Linked DNA regions of Homo sapiens: region 2 is linked to region 1. The links are contacts of gene promoters, found by promoter capture Hi-C in blood cells and fetal thymus (Javierre and others, 2016). All regions are on one chromosome and are shown on one strand. The core of a region is centred on a gene start or on the middle of the fragment in contact, and the rest is flanking DNA. Distances in the headings are between cores, read along the strand shown.

The links. The method cuts DNA at HindIII sites, captures the fragments that hold promoters and counts their contacts. A CHiCAGO score of 5 or more calls a contact.
Region 2: a contact is called between a fragment that was not itself captured here and the fragment with the promoter of TAS2R38 in region 1, in 1 of 17 cell types (neutrophils). The highest score is 8.0, in neutrophils.

Annotation. Positions count from the first base shown.
Region 1 is chr7:141,972,349-141,975,048 of GRCh38, reverse strand. TAS2R38 (taste 2 receptor member 38) reads left to right here and starts at 1,276. Exons shown (of 1, transcript NM_176817.5): 1 at 1,276-2,418. The coding sequence starts at 1,360. The coding sequence ends at 2,361. The HindIII fragment of the contact is 7,298 bases long and covers 1-2,700 here.
Region 2 is chr7:142,096,934-142,099,633 of GRCh38, reverse strand. MGAM (maltase-glucoamylase) reads right to left here. Exons shown (of 71, transcript NM_001365693.1): 66 at 1,985-2,041; 67 at 1-21. Among named protein-coding and RNA genes, the nearest start is that of MGAM2, 13 kb to the left of the region's middle. The HindIII fragment of the contact is 6,332 bases long and covers 1-2,700 here.

The sequences.
Region 1 (2,700 bases), core at 27-2,526:
TGCAACACCGCCACCTGGTGTGGTGAAGACAAGGAGAAAATTAGCTTAAGTTGAAAGTGCAGAATTCTGTGTTTGACACTCTGTAAGCATGAATGACCCAAATGAAGTGGTCACAAACACAATTAATTAAATACAACTGCTACATCATGATGCACAAATAAGGACTACATAAATATCTGCGTATGAACAGTTCAGAATAAAACAAAAGTGAACATCTTTAGTAATCACTGACTTATGTCACTACTAATAATAAAAAAGGAGCTTTAGTCAAAAGAAAACATAAAAAATACAAAGAGAAAGTATCGAAAAACACCAATGGGGCAGCACCAATAACTCTTAAAGGATTTATCGGGGGAAATTCACTCATAAGTGGCAGTTGAACAATGAGAACACATGGACACAGGGAGGGGAACATCAAACACCAGGGCCTGTCAGGGGGTAGGGGGCAAGGGGAAGGAGACCATTAGGAGAAATACCTAATATAGATAACGGGTTGATGGGTGCAGCGAACCACCATGGCAGGTGTATGCCTATGTAACAAGCCTGCATGTTCTGCACATGTACCCCAGAACTTATACTAATTAAAAAATAAACATAATAATAATCCAAACCAGCTATGCCCCCTTTCCTCTCCCTTCATGACAGCGTGCTAGTCTTGTTCATGTTAATATTCTCCTTGCCAGGCACAGTGCCTGGCATAATAATGATGATTGCATGAAACCTTTGGCAACAGCAAATAAAACTGCAATCATACACTGACACATGGAAAGGAACCATGCATTTATCTATATTAAAAACACAGTCTGTGATAAGAGTCATTACTTCACAGATGAGAGAAGGAATGCAAATGAAAAGAGACTCTATTTCAAACCTTAGATCACCAAGAATATCTGCTTTGCCTGCTGCAGGGTGCCTCAAAACCCATAAGCAAATCCTGTTCTCTTCGCCACCCCCACAGGTCCAGATGGGCATGCAAAACTGGATTGGGGAAATTGAGGCCCTGTTTTGTTTGCATCCGTGATGCTGTGCTATGGCCTTCTGGGAAGGCGGTTGTACAGGAACACCTGGATTTATTAATCTTGCATCACCCAAGAGGTAGAACCATCAGTCTTCCACCCTATGATAAGCTCTTACGTGTATCCAAGAGATGTTCTAGAGAAACAACATCCCTCTAAGTTTCCTGCCAGAACTTTTTATGCGCTCGCTTTGGGATAGATCTAGGCAAAGAGCTGGATGCTTTGTGAAGGAAAGGTCCTGGCTTGGAACGTACATTTACCTTTCTGCACTGGGTGGCAACCAGGTCTTTAGATTAGCCAACTAGAGAAGAGAAGTAGAATAGCCAATTAGAGAAGTGACATCATGTTGACTCTAACTCGCATCCGCACTGTGTCCTATGAAGTCAGGAGTACATTTCTGTTCATTTCAGTCCTGGAGTTTGCAGTGGGGTTTCTGACCAATGCCTTCGTTTTCTTGGTGAATTTTTGGGATGTAGTGAAGAGGCAGGCACTGAGCAACAGTGATTGTGTGCTGCTGTGTCTCAGCATCAGCCGGCTTTTCCTGCATGGACTGCTGTTCCTGAGTGCTATCCAGCTTACCCACTTCCAGAAGTTGAGTGAACCACTGAACCACAGCTACCAAGCCATCATCATGCTATGGATGATTGCAAACCAAGCCAACCTCTGGCTTGCTGCCTGCCTCAGCCTGCTTTACTGCTCCAAGCTCATCCGTTTCTCTCACACCTTCCTGATCTGCTTGGCAAGCTGGGTCTCCAGGAAGATCTCCCAGATGCTCCTGGGTATTATTCTTTGCTCCTGCATCTGCACTGTCCTCTGTGTTTGGTGCTTTTTTAGCAGACCTCACTTCACAGTCACAACTGTGCTATTCATGAATAACAATACAAGGCTCAACTGGCAGATTAAAGATCTCAATTTATTTTATTCCTTTCTCTTCTGCTATCTGTGGTCTGTGCCTCCTTTCCTATTGTTTCTGGTTTCTTCTGGGATGCTGACTGTCTCCCTGGGAAGGCACATGAGGACAATGAAGGTCTATACCAGAAACTCTCGTGACCCCAGCCTGGAGGCCCACATTAAAGCCCTCAAGTCTCTTGTCTCCTTTTTCTGCTTCTTTGTGATATCATCCTGTGCTGCCTTCATCTCTGTGCCCCTACTGATTCTGTGGCGCGACAAAATAGGGGTGATGGTTTGTGTTGGGATAATGGCAGCTTGTCCCTCTGGGCATGCAGCCATCCTGATCTCAGGCAATGCCAAGTTGAGGAGAGCTGTGATGACCATTCTGCTCTGGGCTCAGAGCAGCCTGAAGGTAAGAGCCGACCACAAGGCAGATTCCCGGACACTGTGCTGAGAATGGACATGAAATGAGCTCTTCATTAATACGCCTGTGAGTCTTCATAAATATGCCTCTGATTCTTCAGGAATACAACTCTGATTCCTCACAAAGCCTTCCAATTTCTTCTATAAAACACAATTGAAAGTCTCTCCACTTTGTATCAATGAACTCACTTATAGATGAATAAAATAATTAAGCACTATACATGGCCTAGGCAAGAATAATGTTGGTACCCTAGGTTTGTTTTGATAAAATGAACAAAATAATTAAGTATTTGGTGTAAATCCTTTATATACTATAGCTTATTATTGGTATAAATCAAACCATGAGAAATCATCTCTTCTGAAATAATAT
Region 2 (2,700 bases), core at 44-2,543, 120 kb before region 1:
TCTTGCATTAATATCCACACCCTGGAGGCAGAAGAAGGTAAGAGATGACTAAGGAGAGGACAGGCCCCTCCCTGAACAATGCATCCTGCCAGACATCTCATCCTCCCTTCTGAACTTATGCCTGCTCATCACCCTTTGCAACATACCTGCCATTACCCATTCTGCATTCACCCAGTGCTGCAAGAAATCTTGCAAGGCTGCTATAATATCTTGTTAGGGTCTCTTGCCTTTGCTTCCACTGTACAAACTACATTTGCCTGATGTGTGACAGGAAGAGGTGCTACTCTCTCACCTGTATCAGAACCTAAGGGACCATGCTTCCATCCTACATGTTCTCAACTAGAGCAGGGCTTTTCAGTCTCAGCACTATTGAGATTTGGGGCCAGACAATTCTCTGGCGATGGGGCTATCCTGTGCCTTTTGATATTTAGCAGAATCCTCGGATGTCAGCCGCATCACCTCCTCACCCCCACTCTGTTGTGACAACCAAAAATATCTCCAGGCATTGCCAAATGTCCCCTGGTAGGCAAAATCCTCTCATTTCAGAGCTGCTACTTTACAGGTAAGAAGCAGTTATTGTTGACAACAAGCGAACAAATATGCATGGCTGTGTTCCAATAAAACTTTATTTGCAAATCAGCTAACAACCAGATTTGGCTGTGGGCCATAGTTTTTGCCAGCTTGTGCTCTAGAATGAGTAATAGTTACCCAAACTTGGGAAGATTAATTAAGGTGACACTTCTTCATTAATATTAACTATGAAATTCATCTTCATTTTAATTAAACATCAAAATTTCATCTTTTTCTAAATAGCTTGCTCCATGATTTCTTTTGTCTTTTCCTCTTCAACCAAAGACATCTTCTGTTAGTGAATGGGAGACTCAACATGCACACTCAGGACAAAGGCCAGTCTCACGTAAAGAAAGCTGGCCACCTCTTCCTGGGAAACGCCTGGCTGGGACACACATAGCAGAGCCTTAACATGTTACCACCCTAAGGGCAGATCCAGACTAGCAGCAGGAAGAGGAGTCTGGGGCTGTGGAGAGGACTTGGGCTCCAATGGACTGAGAAGAGAAGGAACAAAATGCACATCCTTCTCCAGTTTTCACCTAATCTCACTGCAATCCCCTTGGATGAAAGGGGCCAGCACATGCTCTGCTTCCTGTATCCCTGCTTGTACCCCTTTGCTGTATTTCCAGCCCTCAACGATGTTCTCCTCAGAAAGTCAGAAGAGGCCCCATTAGAGACCAAGGAAATGCCTTCTTTGATTCTTCCCCAAGAATCAGGGTCTGACTTGTCAGGGTCCCAGCAAGAGCCCACCACCCCAGAGCTGCCCGGGAAGACCCTGGCTTCCCAGATAAGTCTTTGGGGAACATAATAGCACAGAAACTATGCGGCAAGGAGCTCTTCATTGCTTCCTCATTTCTAAATGCACTTGCACTGCTTAGACTCACAAGGGTTGGGTCCCATACCTCTGTGTGTGTTTTGCACATTGCCTAATCACTTGCTTACCTTAGGTAATTATGTGCAGTGCCCTTCTTTGAGCATCTATGCTATGGAAGGAGATATTTAATAAAAAGACAGAGACAAAAAGGCCTCTATGCTTACAAACTTACAGCAGGTAAAGATATAAACATTAAAAACAAAAACTATAGTTTGCAACACAATCTCAAAAGCATCTGCCTTTACAAAACATTGTAAATAGCAGTGATATAAGAAAATATTAAAAATTAACACAAAGAGAACACCCACGAAAAACCTGAGTGAGATGCTTTATGTGTCATTTCACAACAGTTCTATGAGGGAAGTGGTCTTACTCCACTTGGAGGTGAGAAAACCGAGGTTACAAGGGTTAAAGTGGCTTCTCTAAGACCACACAGCAGGTGGGTTACAGAGCCAGCATTTGACCTAAGGTCTATCAGATCTAAAGCCTTTGTACTCTCTACCATTTTCCCGTGTTGTATAAACATTCAGAAAAACTTACCGTGTAGTAATCATACCAGCGGGCTCTAGGGAAATATGCAGTGACATTTCTGGCATTCTAAAATGAAACATAAACAAGGTGTGGCAGTGGCACCATTTTCCAGGACAGAGAAACCAAAATACTTAGGAAAGAGGTTAAATAATTGTGATGGCCTTGGGCCCACTTGCCTCATGTCCCAGGAGGTCACCTATTGAGGAAACCTTCCATCCCTTTTCCTTTTTCAAACAGGAGAGATCTGTCTACCCCAAAACAAGTGGCTTTCATAAAGCACTTTGGTACCCAGGACTTCGGGAAAAAAAAAAATTCACTATTTGCTTATAGAAATAGGCTTACGCCATTCCCTCTTAAAGAGACAAACAACTGAGGTTGTGTCTGGGGCAGAAAAAAATTCTGTGGGTACCATAAGATTTGCGGGCTGGACACGGTGGCTCACGTCTGTCATCTCAGCACTTTGGGAGGCCGAGTCAGGCGGATCATGAGGTCAGGAGATCAAGACCATCCTGACTAACATGGTGGAATGCTGTTTCTACTAAAAATAAAAAAAAAAATTTAAATTGGCCGGGCCTGGTGGCACGTGCCTGTAGTCCTAGCTACTCGGCAGGTTGAGGCAGGAGAATCACTTGAACCTGGGAGGCAGAGGTTGCACTGAGCTGACATAGCACCACTGCACTCCAGCCTGGATGACAGAGTGAGACTCTGTCTCAAAAAAAAAAAAA